Linked DNA regions of Homo sapiens: regions 1 and 3 are each linked to region 2. Evidence: promoter capture Hi-C in 16 types of primary human blood cells and fetal thymus (Javierre and others, 2016). All regions are on one chromosome and are shown on one strand. The core of a region is centred on a gene start or on the middle of the fragment in contact, and the rest is flanking DNA. Distances in the headings are between cores, read along the strand shown.

What was found. The method cuts DNA at HindIII sites, captures the fragments that hold promoters and counts their contacts. A CHiCAGO score of 5 or more calls a contact.
Region 1: a contact is called between a fragment that was not itself captured here and the fragment with the promoter of CHD7 in region 2, in 10 of 17 cell types (naive CD8 T cells, neutrophils, naive CD4 T cells and 7 more). The highest score is 15.2, in naive CD8 T cells.
Region 3: a fragment that was not itself captured here is called in contact with the fragment with the promoter of CHD7 in region 2 in 12 of 17 cell types (naive CD8 T cells, activated CD4 T cells, non-activated CD4 T cells and 9 more); the score reaches 23.0 in naive CD8 T cells.

What each region holds. Positions count from the first base shown.
Region 1 is chr8:60,967,932-60,972,871 of GRCh38, reverse strand. It overlaps a transcript of CLVS1 not described here. Among named protein-coding and RNA genes, the nearest start is that of CHD7, 290 kb to the right of the region's middle. The HindIII fragment of the contact is 7,322 bases long and covers 1-4,940 here.
Region 2 is chr8:60,675,916-60,680,533 of GRCh38, reverse strand. It overlaps CHD7 (chromodomain helicase DNA binding protein 7), which reads right to left and starts at 1,794. Exons shown (of 38, transcript NM_017780.4): 1 at 1,452-1,794. RefSeq lists silencers at 317-686, 1,347-1,446, 1,807-2,246. The HindIII fragment of the contact is 9,178 bases long and covers 1-3,903 here.
Region 3 is chr8:60,987,268-60,991,620 of GRCh38, reverse strand. It overlaps a transcript of CLVS1 not described here. Among named protein-coding and RNA genes, the nearest start is that of CLVS1, 300 kb to the left of the region's middle. The HindIII fragment of the contact is 4,294 bases long and covers 540-4,353 here.

The DNA.
Region 1 (4,940 bases), core at 1,714-4,213, 290 kb before region 2:
AGAGCCAGCTAAAAGGGAAATCAGAGTTTTATTACTATTCAAATCTGCCTCCCTGAATTTTTGGAGGCTAGAGTTTTTCAAGGATTGCTTGATGGGCATGGGGCTAGTGAAGAGGAAATGCTGATTGATTGGGGCTGCAATCATAGTGTTGTGGAAAACAGTCCTCCTGCACTGAGTCCACTTATGGGTGGGGGCCACAAAGGAGTTGCTGGTCCAGGTAGGGCCATCTGGTCATCAAAAATGCAAAAGCCTGAAAAGACATCTCAAAAGGCCAACCTTAGGTCTACAATAATAATGTTATTTACAGGAATAATTGGAGAAGTTGCTAATCTCGCGACCTCCAGAATAATGGCTGGTAATCACTTAACTATACCTATATCTTAAGGGAATTCAGGCCCCTCTCATCCTCCTAACCTGGTGTCTTTTCATGAGTTTTAAAATTAATAAACTTATTAATTTTAAGTTTTTAAGTTTAGTTTGAAGAGGGCTATTATTACTTAAACTATGCACTAAATTTTTCCCAGAGTTAGTTTGGCCCATGCCCAGGAATGACCATGGGTACTTTGGAGGTTAAAGGCAAGATGGAGTTGGTCAGATCTCCTTCACTGTCATAATTTTTTCACTGTTATGATTTTTGCAAAGGCAGTTTCATGACCACACTGAGACCACCATGCTGTGAGAAGCCCAAGTCACACAGAGAGGCCCTAATGGGTGAGACAGCATAGAGAGAGAGAGAGAAAGACAGTTACAAAGACAGAGACAGAGAGGCCAAGGCACACCAGACATGAGAATGACAAAGCCAGCATAGAAGTGAACCCTCCATCCCAGCTGCACCAGTTGAGGCCACGTGATCAGACCCACCACCCAGCCGAGCTTACCAAATTCCTGACCCTAAGAATCATGAGCAAATACAATTGCTTGCAAGCCATAATGTTTTGGGGTAGTTTGTTACACAAAAATAGAAAACTGACAGAGGCAGCCAGTAGCAGCCTGGGGTATCTTAAAGAGAAACGGGGGAAGGTGGGGGTGGGGGTGATGTATACTTCCTGAATGTTGAAATCCCAAACTGTCTTCTCGATTCAGTTCTCAGAATGCTGGCAGCCAAGGTATTACCCTCTGGGCAGGAGACTGGCAAATTCTCCTCTGGGAAATATGAACAGCTCTAGAAGACCTAAAGCAACTCACTCAGGGATTCCTCACAGCCACCCTGCTGAGAGGCTCATTTTCACAGGACCCCAGCTATAGGCAGGCAACCCCCATGCCAATAAACATGTGTAAACAACCCAGGTTTACTCTGCACCTCTGGAAGCCTTTATCATGAAAGAGAGAGACCAAATACACAGAAAAAAAGGGGATTTGGAAGAAACAGACACTATGCAGGCAAGAGAAAAGTTAAAATCAAAGTGAGCATTACTGTCCTTGGGGACAAAGATGTGGAAGATACTGCACCCACAAAACAAAGAAGAGCAGGATGCTATTAAAAAGGAAAAGTAGGCCGGGCACAGTGGCTCTCATCTGTAATCCCAGCACTTCGGAAGGCCAAGGCAGGAGGATGGCTTGAGCCCAGGAGCTCCAGGCCAGCCTGGGCAACATGGCGAAACCCTATCGCTACAAAAAATACAGAAAAATTAGCTGGGTGTGGTGGTGGGCGCATGTAGTCCCAGCTACTCGCAAGGCTGAGGTGGGAGGATCACCTGAGCTAAGGAGGTCGAGGTTGCAGTGAGCTGTGATTGTGCCACCTGCACTCCAGCATGGGTGACAGAGTCAGACTCTGTCTCAAAAAAAAAAAAAAAAAAAAAAGGAAAAGTCATCAAAGAACAAAAAAAAAAAGTTGCTAGATTGTTAGACATTTAAAATATAATAATATAAATAAATAACTCAGCTGAAGAGATGGAAGATAAGTTGAGGAAACGTTTTAGAAAGAGGAGCAAAGGACTGAGATGGAAAATAAAAGAGAAAAGATAAAAAAATTAGAAGACCAGTGCAGACTAACAATTATCTGTTTCATCCAAATAATAGAGTTCCAAAGAGAGAGAACTAAAGAAATAGAGGGGATGAAATCACCAATAAAATAATTCAAGGAAATTTCCCAGAATTGAATGGCATGACATATACCAAGTCACATCATCATGAAAGTTCACAGCATTGGTGAGAAAAAGAAGATTCTGCAAGAGGGAATGGAGATTTCAAAGGAAAGGTCATGTACAGAGGTTAAGAAGTCAAATGACTTAGAACTTCTCAACAGCAATACAGGGAGATAGAAGACATGGGTGCAATGCCTTCCAAATTCAGAGAAATTATTTGCATCCTGGACTCACCTACCCAAACTGTGCATCAAGGGCACGTGATTTTCACACAAATTTTCAGACACATAAGGTTGCAAAAAATTAACCTCCCACACGCTTTTCTTAGGAAACTGCAGAACATGTTTCATAAAACAAAGGAATTAACCAAGGAGGAAGAAATGAGATCCAGGAAACAGGCTTCAACACAGTAGAACAATAAAGGAAATTCCCAGGACATTAGTGAAGAGGGATCTCAGGATGACCAGCAGCCGGTCCTGAGGAGAGCTCAGCAGAGGGCTCCAGGGCAGACCTCTCAGAAGATGAGGAGACAGAATGGCGGATGTGAATCCGCATCTCAAGAGAAGATCCAGATCACAGGCATAGAATCAGAGTTGAAAAGTGCATGGAAAACCAAATAAATAAGCCAAGAACAACTTTAATCCAGAGCAGCCCTCCCCAGCAGAACCAGAATGTGAGCTCCATGTGTAATTTTAAATGTTTTATAATCACATTTTTTAAAAGAACTCAAATTCATTTTAATAATACAGTTGCTCCTTGACGTATCGGGGGAGGCGACTTTGATATATCGGGTTCCAGGACCCCCTCAAATACCAATATCCATGAAAGCTCAAGCCCCTTATATAAAATGGTATAGTAATTGCATAGAACCCATGCACATCCTGTTGTATATTTTAAATCATCTCTAGATTACTTATAATATCTAATGCAATGTAAAGGCTCTATAGATAGTTGTTATACTGTATTGCTTTTTTATTTGTTTTATTTTTAATTTTTTTCTTGAATATTTTTGATCCTAGGTTGGTTAATTCATGGATGCTGAATCCATGGACAGGGAGGGCTGACTGTGTGTTATATTTAATTCAATATATCCAAAATATGTCAACATAAAACCAATAAGAACTAAAAATAAAATCCTAACAGCCCCCGCCCCTGCCAACTGACTGAACTGACCCCCTCTTGGCCAAGGGGATCCCAGAGAAACCTTAAAAACTGAGTTCCTGGCCATGATGGGATAGGACGTCAAACACGTATAACCCCTTTCTTTTACGGTTTAGACACAACCACTGACAAGCATTAATATTAAAACAGAGATCGTAAGGCTGACATAACAGACGCTTTGTGGCAGTAAGATACCGAATTGGAAACAGAACCTAAGGCTATGCTAGGCAAGGGTTAAGTCATGCACCCCTACACTTAAAGAGTATACTATGTCCTAAGGGCTACAGGGTTTTTATTTTTCTCTGGCAGCCAAACAAGCAGTGGCCCTGAGATAAGCAATATTGAAACAACTGCAGCTCACCAGCCACCAGACACTGCCTGACTAACCCCCAACCCCTGTTCCACAGCCATAACTACAGCTTTGATTGGACAAGAGCCTTATTTCAGTAACTTTCTCCTGATAAGAGACCACTGACTATAGACTGGTTCTGGCTGGATTACAGAGGCTGTACACTGAGTGCCTTGGTGTCCCTGCTTCACCTTTTGACGTATAGAGCTTGATTGTGATACACTTCATTGTTGTCTCCACCACAAGGTGAACATGGCTTGTATGTAATATACATGTTTGTTCAGAACACATGCATTAGGACCCCCTTTGTGAACATCCATAGCACCATGCCTGGCCTCCTAGTTTTCTTTTTCTTTTATTTTTTTTTATTTTATTTATTTATTTTTTTTGAAACAGGGTCTTGTCCTATTACCTAGGCTGGAGTGCAGTGGCATGACTGCAGCTCACTGCAGCCTTAACCTGCCAGGCTCAAGTGATTCTCCCACCTCAGCCTCCCAAGTAGCTGGGACTACAGGCACATGCCCCCACACTCAGCTAATTTTTGTATTTTTTGTAGAGATGGGGTTTTGCCATGTTGCCCAGGCTGGTCTCGAACCCCTGGCCTCAAGTGATCTGCCCACCTCAGCCTCCCAAAGTGCTGGGATTATAGGTGTGCACCACCATACCAGCCCCAGTTTTCCTAACAAACATAACAATATTAGTTATTGTTAATAATATTGATTAAACTCATACAGGTTATAAATTTGATTTTTTTTTTTTTTTTGAAACGGAGTCTTGTTCTGTGGCCAGGCTGGAGTGCAGTGGGGCAATGTCAGCTCACTGCAACCTCTGCCTCCCGGGTTCAAGCGATTCTCCTGCCTCAGCCTCCCTAGTAGCTGGGACTACAGGCGCACACCACCATGCCAAGCTAATTTTTTGTATTTTAGTAGAGACAGGGTTTCACCATGTTGGTCAGGCTGGTCTCGAACTCCCGACCTCAGGTGATCCGCCGGCCTCGGCCTCGGCCTCCCAAAGTGCTGCGATTACGGGCGTGAGCCACTGCGCCCGGCCTTGCACAGTGGGTCACACCTATCAGCCCCGCAATTTGGGAGGTCAAGGTGGGAGGTCACTTGACCCCAGGAGTTTGAGACCAGCCTGAGCAACATAGTGAGACACCATCCCACAAAAAAATACGTAACAATTCGCCAGGGGCAGGCCTGTGGTCCCAGCGACTTGGGGGACTGAGGTGGGAGAATCGCTTGGGCCCGAGAATTTGATGCTGCAGTAAGCAGAGATCACACCACTGCACTCCAGCCTGGGCGACAGAACAAGACCCTGTCTCTAAATAAATAAATTAAATTAAATGA
Region 2 (4,618 bases), core at 545-3,044:
CAGAGCCATCCGGAGAAAGGCGGCTCGGTAATGATGGCTGCTCGGGGCCGGCGGCTCCTTCCCCAGAGCCTCCCGACCAGCGCCCCCACCCCCGCCCGGGAGCCGCCGCCGCCGCCGCCCCCGCCCCCCCCCCCCGCGACCTCGACAGCCCCGCGCCGCCGCGCCCGCCCCGCACCGCAGCCCAGCCGGTGCCCGCGCCCCCGCCCGAGCCCCGCGCCCCCAGCGAGCCCAATCCCCGGTGCGAACCAAACAAACAACGCGTCCCCCACCGCCCTCCTTTCCTCTCCCCGCTGACCGCTTGGCCTCCAGCCACCTCGGCCGTTCACGCTCCAAGCCGCGGCTCTCTGCGAGGGCAGAGCGCACCCGGGTCACCTCGGGGGCCACCTGGTGACCACCCCCCACCGGCGCTGACCCCCGGCGGGTTGGGGGGCGGGGGAGCCGAGTTGCGTTGGAAGGTTAAAGTCGCTATTATGCAGCTGCCGCCGCCGGCGGCCCGGCCAGCTCGACAAGGTGGGGTCCCCTCCTCGCCGCGCCTCCCGGCGCTCGCCCCGGCCCCGCTCCCTTTCTTCTCCTCCTAGCGCACTTGGGAGCCGCCGGGGAGCCCCAGGAGCCCCCAACTCCGGGCTCGCAACTCCGCGCCCGCGACCGGCACTGGCTGAGCTCGGGACGCCTCCCGCGCCGCGTGTTCGCGCTGCCCCCGCCCCACGCGGCGCCCCGCGCACTTTCCCCGCCGCCGACCCACCTCGCTCGGTGGCGGTCCCCGCGCGGGCTGGCGCCGCCGCGCCGGGAGGAACGCACTTTGTTCGCGCCGGTGCGGCCGCAGCTCCCGGCGAGCGCGGCGTGGTCGGTCCGGAGCGGGGGGCGGGGGCGGGAGGCGGGGGTCGCCGCCGTCCCCGAGCCGCCGCCGCCGCTGCTCAGCCGCCCCGCGCCCGCGCGCCCATCGCCCGCTCGCACTTGAGTTGGAGCCCAACTTTTCCTCCTTCCTTTTTCTCTCGAATGGAGCCGGCAACTCGTGCTCGGCGCCGGCGGGAGGAAACGCGCTCGCGCTCCCCCGCGCGCAGACACGCTCCCTCCTGTCCCCCGTACCCCCCCCCCACGCCGGCAGCACAACAAAAAGCCATTTACATGCGAGGAAGTGACCCTCGGCCGCACCGCGCGCCCCCGCCGCCGCCGGCCCGGCGGACGCAGGCAAAAGTTGGGGCGCCGGGCGGCGCTCGGGGCGCGGGTTCGGGCCCCGCGGGCGGCGACGCCGGCGACACTACGCGGGCGGCGCTGCGCTCCTGCGCTGGCCCCGGCCCCCTCCCGCCCTCGCCCCTCGCCCCTCGCCCCGCACACGCCCAACTCCTCGCTCCCAACTCCTAGCGCGGCCCCGGCCCCGGCCCGGAGCGATTTCCTGCCGCCGCCGCCGCCGCCGCCCCTCCCGGGGGCGCCGGGCGAACTCTCGCGCTCACCGGGTCGGTCGGGCTCCTCCGCTGCCTAGTGCCGAGGGGAAAACAAAACGCAGAGCGGGCTCCGGAGTTGGCTCGGCAGCTGCGGCCAGGGGGCTGAATCCACGGGCACGGAGTTGGCCGGGGGCGAACGGGTCTCTGGTGAGTTTCAGGGTGTCCGGGTCCCCGGGCCGCCTCCTCCGCGGCGCTCCTTTGTGTAATTTCACTCGATTCAAGTTTAATCCGATAGTTCCCGAGCACGAGCGCGTCCGCACCACCACGACTCAACCCCCGCGCCGCCGCCGCCGCCGCCGCTGCCGCCGCCGCCGCCGCCGCCGCCGCGGCCCCAGCACGCCAGCGCCTGCGCGCGTCCGGCACGCCGCGCGCACCCGAAGCCGCGGGGCCGCGCGCGCCCGCCGCCAGCTCCCTCCGGGCCGCGCCGCGCCCGCGCCCGCGCCCGCGCGCCGCCACCTGACGTCAGGCGCGCCTGGCATAATTTATGCAAGAATTCGGCCGGGGTGGCGGAGGCCGAGGGAGAGGCCGAGAGAAAAGGGGCGGCGCGGAGCTGCTGGGCCGCGGGCCGCGGGCCGCAAGGGCGGGCCGGGCGCCACTTCCCGTCCCCTGGCGGGCGCCGGCGCTTCAGGCGGGTCTCCCCGCCGGCCGGTGCGCTGCTGCCGCGGAGTCTTCCTTGCCCGGCTGCACGGAGCGCTCGGCCGCTGCGCCCGGGCGCGGACTGGAGGGGCTGCTGCCACGTCTCCCGCGCGGCACCTTCCCGGAGCCGGGTGCGCCGCCCCGGGGCAGGAAGCGGGGCTCCGGGAGGGCTGCGACCCTCCTGGCTGCCGCGAAGGGTTTCCGACGCTGCGCGGCCGGCGGCGGCCGGGGGTGACTGGCAGTCTCTGCAGTAATTATCCTTCAACTTGAAATTATTTTCCCACATGAAATTATTCGGAAGGGACATGTTCCATTCCAGATGGGTTCGTGCCTGCTTCTCCACATCGCTTTTCCCACCTCTTCGTGGATAGGACACCGGATCCACTACTTAATCAAAAAGTTTAACTAGATGGCATTGATTTTGTCGAATTTGTTACCATACCAAAAAAGAGAGAGAAGGCAGAGAGCTCAATGATTATGAAACAAAGAAATAGGATGTATGCCCATTATTAAACGTGTCGGGACTAGAATGTTTTACTCATTCTTTGGCCAAAATGGCACTTGTATCTGATTGCATAGTCTTAAAAATCCGAGCCTCTTATTCCATTTCTCTTCCCGGTACAAAATGAATGTTAAACCTGAAGAAAAAAAACTTTTTTTTACTAATTTTTATTTTAGGAAATAGATCTACAAACATGGATTAAGCCTCTTCTATCTGCAAAATACGGAGCAATTATAATGTGTTTAAACCATCAATTGTAAACTTTAAGATAATTTTATTAGGTTAAAGATTGCACTTATTTTAAAATCAGGAAAGGAACTCATATCAACCAAAGATTGCCCTATGGCAGGTACAGACTGACTGGTTATTACTGGACTCCAAAATAAACTGAGAAAATAGCAAAACTATGTAAAATGTACTAATCTCACTCACTGATGGTTACACTACCTGTAGTGCTAAGCCTGTAATCACAATATTGTTATTTGGACAAAAGATTAATCAAAACTATCTCATTAAGTAACTACTGCAACTATTCAATAAGTTTGATTATCCTAGACTTAATCACTAAGACATTGATTTTCTGATTTTAGTAATAATTCTATAAATATATCACATTATATTGTGGTTTGTTAAATGCACTGCTTTTAGCTTGCTTTCATCATGTATTTGAGTTTTGTTCTAAAAGAAATAAATGTTTTAATGTTTAAGGAGCTTACAGATCATCAAAAAGAACATAGAAGACAGTACAGAAAGAATTCTGGCATTTAAAAAGTTGAAACCACTAAAATCAACTTCCATCTGTTTTAAACCCGGTATCACAAACCAAGAATCACAACTCTGAGGTTAGGCTACTGTTTCCATTAAGTTTATATTTCCCAATGAAAGTATATGAAAGGTGCTTTAGGGGTGTGTGGGGCGGGGGGGTCAAAAACAGGACACAATGTCTAGAAAAAAAATCGCTAGTACCTGACTATATTAGAACACATTTTTAAAATAATGTGCCATAAAAAATTATGTCTTATCTTTTACAGTGTGCCACAGCTCGATATCAGATGTGCATCTATTTCAAGGCAATTCACAGGAGAAAAAAAATGACATCTACATATAGTGAAATTACAATATTGCAATTAACTTGTTATCAACAAATATGACTATGAGGAGATTCCCTGTGCTCTTGTACATTTAACTCGAAAGCTAGGAAACTTCCTTTTGATATATACCAGTACCCAATGTAAAAACAGTCCTACAGAATATAAGTCCTCTGACTTATAGTCTCCTTATCCTGATCACTGCCCTGAGCCATCATGAAGAAGTCTCTAAGCTTTTAGATGTTGTGGTGGTGTGGAACGTAAGGGGCCTTAAAAAGTAGAGGCCCTCAGGGGCAAACTCCTAGGCAGATCTGGCCTACCTGAGTCATAGCTCTCACCACACCACCACCATCCCCCAACACTCCCCTTTAGCCTGAAATGTTTTTTCTCCATTTGCTTCACTATTGAAGTTTTCCCAATGAGAGTAATTTGAATTCACAAGCTTTCTCTTTAAGTATGCAAATACCTTAGGGTGAGATAAGGGGCTACTGGTCTTTCACAGATGAGTGTAAATTGGTTCAATGGGTTGCTTTCCTCCCAACAGCTAGCCAGAGTAACAAATTTAGAGACTTAGCCATTCATTCAACTTCGAGTGCCTAAGAGTTTCCAGGATTGGTTCTAGGTACTGGAGATATAGTAGTGAACAAAACAGACAAAACGTCCTGCCCTCATGGAGTTTACAATCTAGTGGATTGGTAGTTTTGATCTGGTGATAAGGGAGAATGTTAATTTTGGAGTCTGAGCCCTGGAGGAATAGGACAGACCTGAGTTCCGTGTAGCCAGAGGACAGTGGAAAGGTACTAAGGACCTGGGAAGGAGGGCATTGAAGAATGGAGCGGGCCAAGCAGAAAGCAGTTGAGAAAAACACCAAAGAAAATATGACCCACTACAAAAAGGTTGTCTAGGCCCTAGGTCATGAATAGATACAGTCTATTTGAAGAGCTCAGACT
Region 3 (4,353 bases), core at 1,437-3,936, 310 kb before region 2:
TCAGAGCTCAAGGGCTGACAGGCACGAGACAAGAGGACACAGAAGCAGACTGTGGCCGTCCTGAAAAGCCAGGAAAAGGACTTCTGATTATATACCAAGGGTAATAGGATCTGGATCTGATAAGGATCTGCTGTGAGGAAGGAGATGAGAGTATTTTTCACTTTAAATTTGTGAATATGCAACACATTCACATGTTTTCCAAAACCAGAAAGTATAAAAGCTATTCAGTACAAAGTATTTTCTGGCTTGGTTCTCCTCTCTCCTAAATAGATAACAATTTTTCAGTTTTACATGTGCCCTTTCTGCCTATACACATATGACTAGAGCAAACAAGACTAGAGATTTTTTTTCCTCTTTACCTATACAAAAAGTAGCATACCATGCACAGTGTTCTGTAACTTCAATTTTTTTTTGTGCTAGCTCTTGACTATTTTGCATGTTGTTGACTTATGTCTTGTAGTAGTATTATTATTGTTATTATTAATATTACTTAGCTTTTCACCAATGTAGGTCTTTCCTTTCCTACCAGATGGTAAGCTTCTGGGAAACAAAAGCTGCATCTTACTCAATTTTGCATAAGATAGGTATTCAGTAAAAAAATCTGTTAATTAGTTGGGCACGTTGGCTCATGCCTGTAATCTCAGCACTTTGGAGGCCAAGGCAGGTGGATCACTTGAGGTCAGGAGTTCAAGACCAGCCTGGCCAACATGGTGAAAACCCGTCTCTGCTAAAATGCAAAAATAAATTAGCCAAGCGTGGTGGTGGGTGCCTGTAATCCCAGCTATTCGGGAGGCTGAGACAGGAGAATCGCTTGAAACCAGGAGGCGGAGCTTGCAGTGAGCCAAGATTATGCCACTGCACTCCAGTCTGGGTGATAGAATGAGACTCTGTCTCAAAAAAAAAAAAACAAAAAAAACCCTGTTAATTAATATAGGTGATGAATAAGCATCTTTGTTGAAAACATCAGTTACTATTAAAAAGAACAAATGGTTCATCTATCCTATTCTCTCAAATTTTTTACTTTTAATTTTGCCACTTTTCCAACATTCACCAGAGTAGACATAATAGACTCCTGGGTACTCATCCCAGCTTCAACAAATTTCCACATTTTGGTGATCTTGATCCTTGCCCATCCCCACCACCCATCCACCCTGGGGAAGAAGAGGCTGAGGTATTTTAGTACAAATGCAAGACATCATGTCATTTTATCTGTAAATACCCAAACGAGCACCTCTAATGGATAAAGGCTTTGTTTTAATAACATAAACGTGTGCCATCAAAATTAACAGCAGTTCTTTAGCAGCATCTATTGTCCAGACCATAATCAGACCTCCCTGATTTTGGCAAAACTGTCTTTACACAGTTAGCTTGTTGGAATTAGCAGGAGCCACACAAATCCACCGATGATACCTGAACATTGTGTTCATAGTTCTTAGTTCTCTCTCATTCCATCGTTTCCTCCTCCTGCTTTTTTTTTTTTTTTTTTTTTTTTTTTGGAGATGGAGTCTTGCTCTGTCACCCAGGCTGGAGAGCAGTGACGCGATCTCGGCTCACTGCAACCTCCACCTCCTGGGTTCAAGCGATTCTCCTGCCTCAGCCTCCATAGTAGCTGGGACTACAGGTGCCTGCCAACACACCAGGCTAATTTTTTGTATTTTTAGTAAAGATGGGGTTTCACCGTGTTAGCCAGGATGGTCTCGATCTCCTGACCTCATGATCCGCCCGCCTCGGCCTCCCAAAGTGCTGGTATTACAGGCATGAGTCACCGCACCCAGCCTCCTCTGCCTCTTTTATGCCATAGATTTAGTAGAGAAACCAAGTCATCTGTCCTGAACACTGTCCACATTCTGCACTTAGTTGACTGCTTTCTTGCAGTATCATATAACTTGTTTTCTATTGCCCAGGTTTTCCTGAAAACTGGCAAGATTTGTTTTGAAAATTTTTTCTTAGCCGCTTTGTGGAGATTTGATTATACAGTGGGATAGTGGACATTGAAACGCCCACATTACTTGCCCTGGCACAAGATAGTAGCCCCCAGACTAGAGCAATAGCACATAGCTTCAGGGGTCACGTAGACAAAGAAATGGGCCAATTCAAGAAATGTTTAGGAGGTGGAATCAACAACACTTGTGGACTAAGTGGAAAGGAGTGTGTTTCCAATGCTCTGTTAAGAATCTGCACTTTGGGAGGCCGAGGTGGGTGGATCGCCTGTCAGGAATTCAAGACCAGCCTGACTAACATGGTGAAACTCCATCTCTACTAAATATAAAAAATTAGCTGGGCATGGTGGCACATGCCTGCAATCCCAGCTACTTGGGAGGCTGAGGCAGGAGAATCGCTTGAACCCGGGAGGTGGAGATTGCAGTGAGCCGAGATCACGCCATTGCACTCCAGCCTGGGCAACAAGAGCAAAATTCCATCTCAAAACAAAAGAAAACAAAAAAAAAGAATCTGGGGCTAGGGCAGTGGCTCACGCCTGTAATCCCAACACTTTGGGAGGCCAAAGCAGGAGGATCATTTGAGCTCAGGCAAGGCCAGCCTGGGCAACATAGGGAGACCCCCATCTCTACTAAAAAAAAATTGTTTGTAATTAGCTGGCATGGTGGCCCACACCTGTAGTCTCACCTACTTGGGAGGCTGAAGCAGGAGGATCATTTGAGGCTGGGAGATCAAGGCTGTGGTGAACTTTGATCATGCCACTGCACTCCAGCCTGGATGACAGAGCAAGACTCTGTTGCAAAAAAGAATCTGAACCTCTATAAGACAAACCAAAAAAGCTACTTTCTCCTGGAAAAAACATTTACATGTTTCCCTACATTCTTTTCACAATTATCATTTATGGCAAGTTTTAAGGCATACAAAGTTGTAGTAGTATTGTTGGTGTTAAATTTTATTGCTGTGGCTTTAAAACATAAACAAAAAAAAATTCCTTCTTAAGTAGTTGGAAATTGTAATCATACTCTTGGGAATAGATTTTACTGCTATGGATACTGTAAAGCACAAAGATAATAAATTTAAATTACAGAATTAGTATTGAGAATAAATTTTATTGCTCTGGCTAGCACATTAAGAAGTAGAATTCATAACTCTTTTTTTTTTCAGCAGCTGTTTTACATAGAATGACTCTGGTTCTGGTGTGCAGGGAATATCAAAGGTCACCGGCATCACAGGTCATATGTCCTAATGAGGAACCCGGGCCCACGGGAGCAGCTTGATTCTTACAGGTTGTCTGGGAGCTGGAGAGAAGCTGTCCCAGGCACCAGTATCTGGCAGGTGGGAAGACTGGGAAGACTACCTGCACCTCCTCTTCTCAGCATTGAGGAGAGGTCATCTGGGTTGCTACTAACTTCTCCCCCAACCACTCGCATGGAGATGTCTCTGCACCCCCCAGTCTCTACAGGGTCCTTTTTTGAAAAGCTCTCCAGTTCAAGAATGGAGTTGGGTTTTGGTGTTGGATGGTCTTTCTCTTAGTGAACATTCTCTGCTCACTCTGCATCCATCTCAGTGAGGGGACAGCCACACACTCAAACAGGAATCAGAAGTCATTCTTGGCTCTCCTCTCCCTCACATCTGCCATTCACCAGCCCTGCAAATCCTACCTTCCCAGATGTCTCTCAGATTCCTGGCTCACTCCCCACCCCATTTCAGACTACCTTCATCTCTCACTAGCACTTTTATTATTTGTTAAGTTTTTTTAAGAGATTTGGTCTTGCTCTATCACCAGGCTGGAGGGCATGATCATGGTTCACTGTAGTCTTGAACTCCTGGCTCAAGCAATCCTCCTGCCTCAGCCTCTGAGTAGCTGGGACTACAGGCTCGAGCCACCACACTGGCTCTCATTGGCACTTTTATTACATCCTCTTTCCTCCATGCTTATCATGATAATGATGACCATTGTTACTGGGCATGAATGAAGTGTCAGGAACTGTGCTCAGTGCCTGATATCAGTATCTCATTTAACCCTCATAACATCCCTGTAAAGTAAGGATACATTTTTTTCATAAATGAGGAAATGGAGGTTCAGAGGTTAACTATTGAAAGATATCATTTATTTTTTTAAATCAGCAGGCCCAAGCAGAAAGTAAATCTTAGATCCTTTCCTATTCTTCAGTGACTCCCTGCTATCATTCCTTCTTTCCTTCCTTCCTTCCTCCAACAAACAGGCAACTTAGCATAAAACTCAAGAGCACTGCCAATCTCTCCAGACTCAACCATCACAACTCAAGTAACCGTAGCTCTCACAGAGTGACTGGTAGTTCTTGGGATGTCATTTGCTATTGTCTGCAATGTAACCCATTTCCATTTCATTTTCTAGCTTCTATTTATCCTTCAAGATTTATTTTAGACATCATT